2 separate regions of the Homo sapiens genome follow, and region 1 is linked to region 2. The links are contacts of gene promoters, found by promoter capture Hi-C in blood cells and fetal thymus (Javierre and others, 2016). All regions are on one chromosome and are shown on one strand. Each heading gives the region's core, a stretch centred on a gene start or on the middle of the fragment in contact. The rest is flanking DNA. Distances are from core to core; before and after follow the strand shown.

What was found. The method cuts DNA at HindIII sites, captures the fragments that hold promoters and counts their contacts. A CHiCAGO score of 5 or more calls a contact.
Region 1: a contact is called between a fragment that was not itself captured here and the fragment with the promoter of PRAM1 in region 2, in 1 of 17 cell types (naive CD8 T cells). The highest score is 6.1, in naive CD8 T cells.

Annotation. Positions count from the first base shown.
Region 1 is chr19:8,633,718-8,640,162 of GRCh38, reverse strand. It overlaps NFILZ (NFIL3 like basic leucine zipper), which reads right to left. Exons shown (of 6, transcript NM_001378600.1): 3 at 4,417-4,513. Among named protein-coding and RNA genes, the nearest start is that of NFILZ, 6.3 kb to the right of the region's middle. The HindIII fragment of the contact is 6,295 bases long and covers 529-6,445 here.
Region 2 is chr19:8,499,602-8,505,652 of GRCh38, reverse strand. It overlaps PRAM1 (PML-RARA regulated adaptor molecule 1), which reads left to right and starts at 3,013. Exons shown (of 10, transcript NM_032152.5): 1 at 3,013-3,088; 2 at 5,873-6,051. The coding sequence starts at 3,062. The HindIII fragment of the contact is 16,783 bases long and covers 2,546-6,051 here.

The DNA of each region.
Region 1 (6,445 bases), core at 2,427-4,926, 130 kb before region 2:
GGTGGGTGAGGGCAAGAGTTCAGCGGGCAGGAACTCAGGCCAAGACGCAACCATGAGAACAGAGGCCCTGGGAATTCACAAGCATCTCACAGAGGGCACCAGGCTTCCCACAGGTCGTGGGAGAGAGGCAGACGCCAAATCTCTGAGGCTCTATTGACCCCAGCTGACATCTGGGTAACATCTGTTATACAAAAGAGCCGGGACCCAGCCAAAACATGGCAACCCCAGTAGGGCTTTTAAACACCCAGCAGGGTTTTTTAAATAGTGTTAGAGAGATTCTTTCACAACAACAAACTCACTAATGGCCACCTGGCTCAGCTGCCGCCCAGAGACACCCAACACACACACGCCTACCGCATATAAAAATAAACTAATCCTTACCCCATGTGTGGTATATGCCAGACACTGGCCTATCACTTTACACATATTAATTCATGTCGTCCTTCCAACAACTCCTTCAGGTAGGTGCTATTATCATCCACCCAGCAGCCAGAGAGGACACCCTCAACACATCCCAGGGTAAAAGCTTGAGTACTTTCTGCAAATCTTTTTTTTTTTTTTTTAATTTTCTTAAGAGATGGTCTGGCTCTGTGACCCAGGCTGTATTGCTGTGGTGCGATCATAGCTCACTACAGCCTCAAACTCCTGGGCTCAAGCGATCTTCCTGCCTCCTGAGTAGCTGGGACTACAGGCACATGCCACCATACTTGGCTAATTGTTGCGTTTTGTTTTGTTTTGTTTTGTTTTTGTAGAGGCAGGGGTCTTGCTATGTTGCCCAGGCTGGTCGCAAACTTCCAGGCTCAAATGATCCTCCTGCCTCAGCCTCCCAAAGTGCTGGGGTTACAGGTGTGAGCCGCCATGCCTGGCCTGCCATGCCTGTAACTCTTGAGATCTTGCAAGCTCTCCTTCCCCACAACACCCACTGTCACCTCTCTGCCTTTGCCCTCCTTCCTCTCACCCCTTCTATCACTCTGCTCCAACCACATGGACCTCCTCACTGTTCCTTAAACAGCCAAGTAGGCCGGGCTCAGTGGCTGACACCTGCAATCCCACCACTTTGGGAGGCCGAGTCGGGCAGATCACTTGAGGCCAGGAGTTTGAGACCAGCCTGGCCAATGTGGTGAAAGCCTGTCTCTATTACAAATACAAAAAATTAGCTGGGCATGGTGGTGTGCGCCTGTAATCCCAGCTACTCGGAGGCTGAGGCAGGAGGATCCCTTGAACCCGGGAGGCAGAGGTTGCGGTGATCCAAGATTGTGCCACTGCACTCCAGTCTGGGCAACAGAGCGAGATTCCATCTCAAAAAAAAAAAAAAAAACAGCAAAGTAAATTCCTGCTTCAGGGCCTTTGCACTTGCTTTGCCCTCTGCCAGAAAGACTCTCCCCTCCCCTCCATCCCCCTAGAAGCACCTCACTCTCCTCACCTTCCCCGGGAGGTCCCCCCACCTCTAAAGCTGCAGCCTCTTCCCCATGTACACAAACGCAGCCCTACCACCCTGTGACATACTGCAGACTTGACCAACTCTTCATCTTTATTTCTGCCTTCCTGGCCCACCAGGGCAGGCATTTGGGTCTGTTTTGTTCGCCGCTGCAACCCCCAGTGCTTGGAATGGAGCCTGGCACGCAGGAGGTGTTCGTTCCGTAAATATTTGTTGAATGAATGAATCCACACTGAAAGAGGAAACGGGCAGGAGAGAAGTTGGGCAATTCGCCCAAGGCCCCACAGTCCTTAAGTGGCAGAAGCAAGACGGGAGCCCCCACAGTTCAACTGCACAGGCTTCCTAACCACTGTGTGAGGTTTTCCCCCAGGCACATCCCTTTGCACGCCCACAAATGCACACAGCGGCTAACGCACGTGCACACTCATGAACGCACGTGTAAATTCCACCACCAACAGGATAAGTGTGCGCACTTCTAGCATCACACAGCATAGCGTGTGACGCCTGGCTTAGCGTTTACCGCGGAATGGCAATGAGTTCGTTGTAGAATCTAGGGGTGAGTGTGCCTGTGCCCAATTCTTTCCATTTTTCTGTGTGTTGGAAAGAGTTTCTAATGTTGAGAAAATTTGACTTCCCATAGCATCTACTGATCTTTGCTCTATTAAGGTGGCCTGGCAAGGTCATGCTGGCACTAACCTGTGTTGGGGAAAGGTCTATGAAGTCCTTCTCTGTTCTACAAGAGCAAGGGGACTATGTGGAGGCTTTTTGTTTTTCTTTTTCTGTTCTTTTCTTTTTTTTTTTTTTTTTTTTTTGAGACCATCTTTAGTCTTGCTCTTGTCGCCCAGGCTGTAGTACAGTGGCGCAATCTCAGCTCACTGCAATCTCCGCCTCCCTGGTTCAGGTGATTCTCCTGCCTCAGCCTCCCAAGTAGCTGAGATTACAGGCATCTGCCACCATGCCTGGCTAATTTTTTGTATTTTAGTAGAGATGGAGTTTCACTATGTTGGTCAGGCTGGTCTCAAACTCCTGACCTCAGGTGATCCACATGCCTCAGCCTCCCAAAGTGCTGGAATTACAGGCGTGAGCCACTGCACTCGGCCTTTTTTTTTTTTGAGATGGAGTCTCACTCTGTCGCCTAGGCTGGAGAGCAGTGGTGCAATCTCGGGTCACTGCAACCTCCACCTCCCCAGTTCAAGCTATTCTCCTGCCTCAGCCTCCCAAGTAGCTGGGACTACAAGTATGCACCGCCATTCCCTGCTAATTTTTGTATTTTTAGTAGAGAAGGGGCTTCACCATGTTGGTCAGGCTGGTCTCGAACTCCTGACCTCAGGAGTTGCTGAGTTCTATGGTAACTTTGTGTTTAAGGTTTTGTTTTGGTTTGGTTTTGGTTTTTTTTCTATTGCCCAGGCTGGAGTGCAGTGGTGTGATCTCAGCTCACTACAATCTCTGCCTCCTGGATTCAAGTGACTCTCCTGCTTCAGCCTTCTGAGAGCTGAGATTATATGTGTGCGTCATCACACCCGGCTGGAGTGCACAGTCCTAGCTCACTGCAGCCTCGAACTCCTGGGCTCAAGTGATCCTTCTGCCTTGGCCTCTTAAAGTACTGGGACTACAGGTATGAGCCACCACATTCAGCCTTGCCCATTTTTTTAAAAACTAGGCAAGGATTTGGTTAGAATGAAGATTCTGGCCTCCCCTCCAGGCACCCTGTCCTATACCTCACCTGATTCGCACTTCTATATCTTCCCCTTGGCCCCAGCTCTATCCCTGACTGTCCCCCTCCAGTATCCAGGGGACCAGTGTCCTGTCTCTCCATACAAAAGCCTCCATATAGGCCAGGCGCAATGGCTAATGCCTGTAATCCCAAAACTTTGGGAGGCCAAGGTGGGCGGATCACTTGTGGTCAGGAGTTCGAGGCCAGCCTGGGCAAAAGGGTGAAACCTCACCTCTATTAAAAATACAAAAATTAGCCAAGCATGGTGGCTCACGCCTGTAATCCCAGCACTTTGGGAGGCCAAGGCAAGCTGATCACCTGAGGTCGGGAGTTCAAGGCCAGCCTCACCAACATGGTGAAACCCCGTCTCTACTAAAAATAAAAATTAAAAAAAAAAACATAGCTGGGCATGATGGTGCATGCCTGTAATCCTAGCTACTCAGGAGGCTAAGGGAGGAGAATTGCTTGAACCCAGGAGGCAGAGGTTGCGGTGAGCCGAGATGGCGCCATTGAACTCCAGCCTGGGCGACAGAGCAAGACTCTGTTTCAAAAAAAAAAAAAAAAAGATGGAGTCTCGCTGTGTTGCCCAGGCTGGAGTGCAATGGCGCAATCTCGGCTCACTGCAACCTCCGCCTCCCAGGTTCAAGCATTTCTCCTGCCTCAGCCTCCCAAGTAGCTGGGACTACAGGCGTGTGCCACCATGCCCAGTTAATTTTTGTATTTTTAGTAGAGACGGGGTTTCACCATGTTGGTCAGGCTGGTCTCGAACTCCTGACCCCGTGATTCACCCGCCTCGGCCTCCCAAAGTGCTGAGATTACAGGCATGAGCCACCGCGCCCAGCCGAAAATAAAATTTTTTTAAAAGGCTGGTTTTGGCTGGGTGTGGTGGCTCATGCCTGTAATACCAGTACTTTGGGAGGATGAGCCGGGTAGAACACTTGAGGCCAGGAGTTCAACACCAGCCTGGGCAATACGGTGAAACCCCCTCTCTACTAAAAATACAAAAATCAGCTGGGTGTGGTGGTGCGCACCTGTAATTCCAGCTACTCTGGAGGCTGAGACAGGAAAATAGCTTGAGCCCAGGAGGCAGAGGTGGCAATGAGCCAAGACTGCACCATTGCACTCCAGTTTGGGTGACAGAGCAAGACCCTGTCTAATAAATAAAAATAAATAAACAAATAAATAAAGAGAGAAAGAGAAAGTCAGAGACAGAGAGAGAGAATAAGGACTCATAGGTATTCACCGTAGAGAAATGGAAACTTACCCTCACACCAAAACTTGCACATCAACGTCTGGCACATTATTTATCATCGCCTATGAATTTGGGCATTCGTCACCAAAACTGGAAACAACTCACGTGTCTGTCAACAAATGAATGGATGCATGGTGACACATCCATACCAGGGACTCCTCAACAGTAAAAGAAACAAAAAATGCTACACCCAACAACGTGAATAAGCCTCAAATGCATTCTGCTGCCTGGAAGAAGTATGCGCCAAAAGCTGCCTATGGTACGATTCCATTGACATAATATCCTGGGAAAAGGCAGAAATATAGCAACAGAGAGGAAGTCAGCAGGGGCCAGGGGCTGGGACTGAGGGAGAGAAATTGACTCCAGAGGGGCACGCAGGAATTGCAGGAATTGGGAGGGAAAAAGGTATTCTGTATTTCTTTTTTTTTTTTTTTAATTTTTTTTTTTTTGAGATGGAGTCTTGCTCTGTTGCCCAGGCTGAGGTGCAGTGGTATGATCTCGGCTCACTGCAACCTCCGCCTCCCAGGTTCAAGCGATTCTCCTGCCTCAGCCTCCTGAGTAGCTGGGATTACAGGTGCCCACCACCATGCCCGGCTAATTTTTGTATTTTTAGTAGAGACAGAGAGTCACTATGTTGGCCAGGCTGGTCTTGAACTCCTGACCTCAAGTGATCCACCCGCCTCAGCCTCCCAAAGTGCTAGGATTACAAGTGTGAGCCACCAGGCCTGGCCGGTATTCTGTATTTCTATTGAGGTTGTGGTTATAGGGTTGTGTGGTTTGTCAAATATCACAGAATCGTATACTAATATGTATGGGTTTCACTGTCAGTAAATTACACTGGTTTTTTTGTTTTTTTGTTTGTTTGTTTGTTTGTTTGTTTGTTTGTTTGTTTGTGATAGGGTCTTGGCTAAAGTGCAGTGGGGCCATCTTGGCTTGATGCAGCCTCGACTTCCCGGATTCAAGTGATCCTCCCACCTTAGCCTCCCAATTAGCTGGAACTACGAATGCACACCACTATGCCCAGCTAATTTTCTGTTTTGTTTTTTGTAGAGACAAGGTCTCACTGTGTTGCCCAGACTGATCTCCAATGCCTGAGCTCAAGCGATCCGCCCGCCTCAGCCTCCCAAAGTGCTGGGACTATAGGCCTGTGCCACCACACCTGGCCAGTAAATTACACTTTAATTTTTACTTAAATGAAAGGAAAAAACATTACAATAATAAGGCCCAGCATTTTGGTAGGCTGAGGCAAGAGGATTACTTGAGGCCAGGAATTTGAGAGAGATCCCATCTCTACAAAAAATAAAAATTAGCTGGGTGTCACGGCATGCGCCGATAGTTCCAGCTACTCAGGAGGCTGATGTGGGAGAATCATTTGAGCCCAGACATTCAAGGCTGGATTGCACCACTGCAATCCAGCCTGGGCAACAGAGTGAAACCCTGTCTCAAAAAGAAAAAAAAAAGAGGCCAGGCAGGGTGGCTCACGCCTGTAATCCCAACACTTTGGGAGACCAAGGGGGTGGATCACTTGAAGCCAGGGGTTCAAGACCAGCCTGGCCAACATGGTGAAACCCCTTCTCTACCAAAGATACAAAAATCAGCTGGGCATGATAGCACACACCTGTAGTCCCAGCTACTTGGGAGGCTGAGGCAGGAGAATCGCTTGAACCTGGCAGGTGGAGGTTGCAATGAGCCGAGATGGCGCCACCGTACTGCAGCCTGGGTGACAGAGCAAGACTCTATCTCAAAAAAAAAAGGAAACAAGAAAGCAAGCAAGAAAGCAAAAAAGAGAGAGAGAGAAGGAAAGAAGGGAGGGAAGGAAGGAAGGAAGGAAGGAAGGAAGGAAGGAAGGAAGGAAGGAAGGAAGGAAGGAAGGAAGGAAGGGAGAAAAGTTATACTAATGATAACTGAGTAAGAAAGAAAGCTATACTCCCAAATCCACTTCCTCCCCTTCCACAACCTCCTGTCCAGCCTCGACATCTGTCTCTCCCTCCCCAGGACCCTGCTCCCTTGACCAGGAGGCAGGGGGCCTTGTCCCAGGACA
Region 2 (6,051 bases), core at 1,764-4,263:
TATTTATTTACTTATTTTTATTATTTAATTTAATTTTTTTTTTTTTGAGACGGTGTCTCGCCTTGTCACCCAGGTTGGAGTGCAATGGCGCAATCTCAGCTCACTGCAACCTCCGCCTCCCGGGTTCAAGCGATTCTCCCGCCTCAGCCTCCCAGGTACCTGGGATTACAGGTGTGCACAAACAGTATTTTTAGTAGAGACAGGGTTTCATCATGTTGGCCAGGCTGCTCTCGAACTCCTGACCTCAGGTGATACGCCCGCCTGGCCTCCCAAACTTCTGGGATTACAGGCGTCAGCCACCGCGCCTGGCCACTTGTTCTTTCTTTCATTCTTTCCTTCACTTGCCAAGGTTCTGGAGACCCACAGAGAGCCCATACTGTCCTCCCGAGACTCCTTTTTGGGAGGGCAACCCACATCTGGGAACTGTGCCCCAGGACAGGATGCAAAGGCACAACAGAGATGGCAGAATCCTGATGTCTGTGCTCTTAAAGGAGGCGTGAAAACAGGCAGGCCAGGCGCAGTGACTAAGGCCTGTAATCCCAGCACTTTGGGAGGCCCACGTGGGTAGATTGCTTGAGGTCAGGAGTTTGAGACCAGCCTGGCCAATGGTGACACCCCAGCTCTGCTAAAAATCCAGAAAATTAGCCGGGCATGTTGGCAGGCACCTGTAATCCCAGCTACTTGAAGCCGGGAGGCAGCCTGGGAGACAGAGCAAGACTTTGTCTCAAAAAAAAAATTTTAAAATGTTTTAAAAATACTTGCTCGGGCCACACCCCAGACTGATTAAGTCAGAGTTTCTTGTAGGTTCTGTTTTTTGTTTTGTTTTTTTTTAGATGGAGTTTTGCTCTGTCACCCAGACTGGAGTGCAGTGGAGCCATCTCGTCTCACTGCAACCTCCGCCTCCTGGGTTCAAGCAATTCTCCTGCCTCAGCCTCCCAAGTAGCCAAGATTACAGGCATGCGCCACCACGCCGAGCTAATTTTTGTATTTTTAGTAGAGATGGGGTTTCTCCATGTTGCCCAGGCTGGTCTTGAACTCCCAACCTCAGGTGATCAACCTCAGGTGATCCACCCGACTCAGCCTCCCAAAGTGCTGGGATTACAGGCGTGAGCCACACTGCCCAACCGCCGGTTCTTTTTTTTTTTTTTTTAACTGTTCAGGCAATTCCAACATGTGCTCAAACTGAAAACCAGGGCTCTCTACTCTCTTAGCAGGTGTTTTCTCCCTTTGTCTACCGTGACGGAGATTACTGATCTCCTGTGGGCTGAGCTCTGTGGTCAGGGCTTGTCCTTATCTGGCCAGTCCTCGGCACCACAAGTGACTGCCTTCACCCCCTCTTGGCCCCTGTCTCTGTCTCCTGGTTCCTCTTCTCTCTACTACCTCTAACCTCTGGGAATCTGGTGTGTCCTCGGGTCCTCAGACCCCCTCACTCCTCCAGAACTGCAAAGCCTTTTTTTTTTTTTTTTTTTGAGATGGAGTCTCTCTCTGTCACCCAGCATGGAGTACAGTGGCGTGATCTTGACTCTGCAACCTCCGCCTTCAGGGTTCAAGTGATTCTCCCACCCCAGCCTCCCAAGCAGCTGGGACCACAGGCGTGCACCATCACACCTGGCTAATTTTATATTTTTTGTAGAGATGGAGTCTTGCTACATTGCCCAAGCTGGTCTTGAACTCCTGGGCTCAAGTGATCCTCCTGCCTCAGCCTCCCAAAGTGTTAGGATTACAGGCGTGAGCCACCGTGCGTGGCCCAGGTGCAAGGCCTTTGACACCACTCACCCACCGACCCCCAAATCTGCTGTACCAGCTAAGCTTTCTGCCCAGGGCGGCAGCCTGGGACATCCATGGCCTGTGATATCTGCCCCAGAACAAGTGAGTCCTGCTCAGAGCCGGGAATTGGATTTCATGGAAGTGTTGAAATGAGGAAGGCGGATGAGCCAACCAGGGCAGACAGCAGAGGCCTCACCCGGTCACATGGGCCCCCACGTCCTGGGCCTCTGGGCCTCCCCAGGAGCCTCCTAAACCCCAGAGCTGTCCGTACCCCTGATCTGCTGAGATCTCCCCATCCTGTGGCTCTCTAGCCCAGGAGGTCACCAGGGCCTGGCATGGAGTCCTCCCTGGAGTCCAGAGATGGGGACACCAAAGTAGTAGGAATGATGGGGACTATAGAGAGTAAGAAACTAGTTGGCCAGGCGTGGTTGCTCACGCCTGTAGTCCCAGCACTTTGGGAGGCCGAGGCGGGCAGATCATCTGAGGTTGGGAGTTTGAGACCAGCCTGACCAACATGGTGAAACCCCGTCTCTACTAAAAATACAAAAAATTAGCCGGCAGTGGTGGCACATGCATGTAATTCCAGCTACTCAGGAGACTGAGGCAGGACAATCGCTTGAACCTGGGAGGCGGAGGTTGCAGTGAGTCGAGATTGCGCCACTACACTCCAGCCTGGGCAACAAAGTGATACCCCGTCTCAAAAAAAAAAAAAAAAAAAAAAAAAAGAAAGAAACTAGTGACCATGTTAGGAACATGCGGGCAACCAGTGCCCCAAGCTTGGGACAGTAGCAGGCAGGACAGGAATTCAAGCGAAATAGAAGTGCCCAGCAGGGGCCGGGGCAGTGGCTCACACCTGTAATCCCAGCACTTTGGTAGGCCGAGGCGGACCGATCCCTTGAGGTCAGGAGTTTGAGACCAGCCTGCCCAACATGGTGAAACCCCTTCTCTACTAAAGATACGAAAAGTAGCCAGGAGCGGTGGTGCGCGCCTGTAATCCCAGCTACTCAGGAGGTTGATGCAAAAGAATTGCCTGAACCCGGGAGGCAGAGGTTGCAGTGAGCCGAGATGGCACCATGGCACTCCAGCCTGGGCGACAGAGCAAGACTCAGTCTCAAAAAAAAAGAAGTGGCTGGCAGGATCTGGAGACGGACTGGAGCCTCCCCACCTCCTTCCCTTCCTCCTCTGCCCTCCCCCGCCCCACCTCTAGCAGCCCCCACCCTGTGTGCTGACCGTGGAGCAGAAGCCACAGTCACTTCCTGAAGGCAGCGGCCCCAGCTCGGGTCCCACTCATCCCATGGCCCATCACCTGCCTGCAGCCATGGTGAGTGCTGGAAGAGGCCTGTGCCTCACTGGCTGGGAAGCAAGGGACACAGATGTTCCCAGAAGGATAGGATCCACCTGTGGAGGGGCGGGCGGGGGGGCGGGGGGTGGCTGCGAAAGACATCTGGGAAACGGGAAGGGTCGGCAAAAAGGACCCGAGGTAGGCGGCCACCAGGCACACCCCAGGACAGCGCGGGCTCCTGGGGGTTCACGCTCAGGTTGGGACTGCGAGGGGGACAGATGGGACTCCCCGGGGGGACAACTCCCGTCTCCCCAGGTCAACATGAGCAGCCATGTGGGAACGGGCTGCTGGGGTGAGAGCAGTGCTTTCCTGCGGGGTGACAAAGTGGGTCATGACCCTCCCCCGTCCAGTCACCCAAGTTGTGACCTGCTAACCCTGACTTATCTAGCCCTGTGGTCGCCCGGGAGCACTTCCTTCAAACCACTCGGGGCTTTGACAGGGGCACTTCAGGCCCCAGGTGGGAATTGCTGCCTTTCCAAGGAGCAATCCTGGTCTCTGGTCCTCTGGATGGGGAAAGTGAGGCACACGCAGGAAGCAAAGGCCACACGTTTCTGCCCTTTCCCTCCCCCAATCTCCTTGACCACAGGTGAAAGGGGCGTTTGTAGGACTAAGGAGGCCTGGCCTTCTTGTGAATCTGCCTACCTCTGTGAGGAGTGGTTGCAGGGCCAGCTAGGAGGGCAGCTGGGACAGCTGGGTATGCAGGAGACAGCGCCTGTGCCCACGGTGTCTGCACCAATCCTCTCAGGCACTGTCAACTGTGAGCATTCCTGACCATCAGCCCGCATGTCAGAGACGGTGTGAGAGGGACCGCATGGCCGTCTCCAGGCATCTCTGTGTTTTCCTGATGGTCAGGCTGAGTACATGGCTGTCTTTGTGCTGCCTGAATATTGTTTATTTCAGCAAATATTTACTGAGCACCTACCATGTTCCAGGCCCTGGGAAGACAGCAATGAATGAGCCAAGTCTCTGCCTTGCAGAGGCTGAGGAACTGAGGGAAGTTGTGGTGTAGAGAGACAAAAAAAAAAAAAAAAAAAAATCAAGACACATTAAAAACAATGTAAAATAGTATAATACGTAGGGGTGGGTACGATGGAGAAAATCATGCATGCTGAATGCAGGGCAGTAGTGGGATGGGGTGATCCATTTAAAATAGGGTGGTCTAGGCCAGGCGTGATGGCTCATGCACTTTGGGAGGCCGAGGTGGGTGGATCACTTGAGGTCAGGAGTTCGAGACCAGCCTGGCCAACATGGTAAAACCCTGTTTCCATTAAAAATACAAAAAAAATTAGCCAGGCGTCGTGGCAGACACCTGTGATCCCAGCTACTCAGGAGGCTGAGAATCGCTTGAACCCAGGAGGCGGAGGTTGCAGTATGGCGAGATTCCACCACTGCATTCCAACCTGGGTGACAGAGTGAGACTCCGTCTCAAAAAAAAAAAAAAAAAAGAAAGAAAGAAAAATAGGGTGGTCTAGGTTGGGCACGGTGGCTCACACCTGTAATCCCAGCACTTTGGGAGGCTGAGGCGGGTGGAGGGTGGATCACCTGAGGTCGTGAGTTTGAGACCAGCCTGGCCAACGTGGTGAAACCCTGTCTCTAGTTAAAATACAAAAATTAGCCAGGTGTGGTGGCGAGTGCCTGTAATCCCAGCTACTTGGGCGGCTGAGGCACGAGAATCATTTGAACCTGGGAAGTGGAGATTGCAGTGAGCCGAGATCGCGCCATTGCACTCCAGTCTGGGTGACAGAGCAAGACTCCATCTCAAAAAATAAAAATAAACAAATAGGGTGGCCTTGGATGGCCTCTCTAATAAGAAAATATGAGAACAGAGGCTGGGAGGAGGAAAAGGAGAGACCCAGGTGGTGCAGAGACATGTCCTGGGTCAGGGACAGGGCAGAGGCCCCGAGGTCGGAGGGAAGTGTTCAGGGTGCAGGGAGGAGAAGGTGGCTGGGTAGGGAGGCTGGTTCGCCCAGGCTTTTATGAGGCATTTAGCTTGAACTGTGGGGACATGAGGAAGCATTGCCGAGTTTTGAGCAGAGGGACACAAACAGACTCAGGGTTCAACAGGCTTCTCCCTCCAGCTGCCATGGGGGGAACTGACCAGGGAAGGGGGTAGGCAGAGGCCCAGGGAAGGGCTTGTTAGAGTAATCCAGGCAATTGGTTGGGGGAGGGCAGACACTGCCTCCCACTACCTCCTGGGGTGACAGTGGTGAAGGCAGTGAGAAGTGGTTGGATTCCGGATGTGTTTTGAAATTAGCACAGAAGGGACTGGGGGCCTGGGCGCGGCGGCTCAAGCCTGTAATCCCAGCTACTGGGGAGGCCGAGGTCGGGGGAATCATTGGAGCCCAGGAGTTGCAAGCTGCAGTGAGCTATGATTGCACCACTGCTCTCCAGCCTGGGCAATGGAACGAGACTGGAGACATGCAGTGGGAGGGGTGAAAGAATGAGGGGGTCAAGGATGCTGGGGGGGTGGGGTACCACCCATGGGGGGAGGGCAGTGGGACTGGAGGCTGCAGGAGGGATGTCGGGATCTCCAGTGCTGCTAGAGGAGGTTGGGTGTGGAATCAGCACTAAATGGAGAAGTAGGGAGGGGTGTCGGTCCCAGGATCCTAGGATCCATGGGGGCTCCTGGGAAAGAGCTGAGGGCTGACCGGGCCTGGGCGCAGGGGTGGTGGTTGTGGGCTGTGCCTGAGGGTCCCCAGGCCCATCCTTCCATGCCCCTTCTGTGTGTTTGAGCCCCTGCCTCATTGGCTCTGCGTCTCCTAGGAGAGCCATCAGGACTTCCGGAGCATCAAAGCAAAGTTCCAGGCCTCTCAGCCGGAGCCCAGCGACCTGCCCAAAAAACCTCCGAAGCCTGAGTTTGGTAAACTGAAGAAGTTCTCCCAGCCTGAGCTAAGCGAGCACCCCAAGAAGGCCCCGCTGCCTGAGTTTGGTGCAGTGTCCTT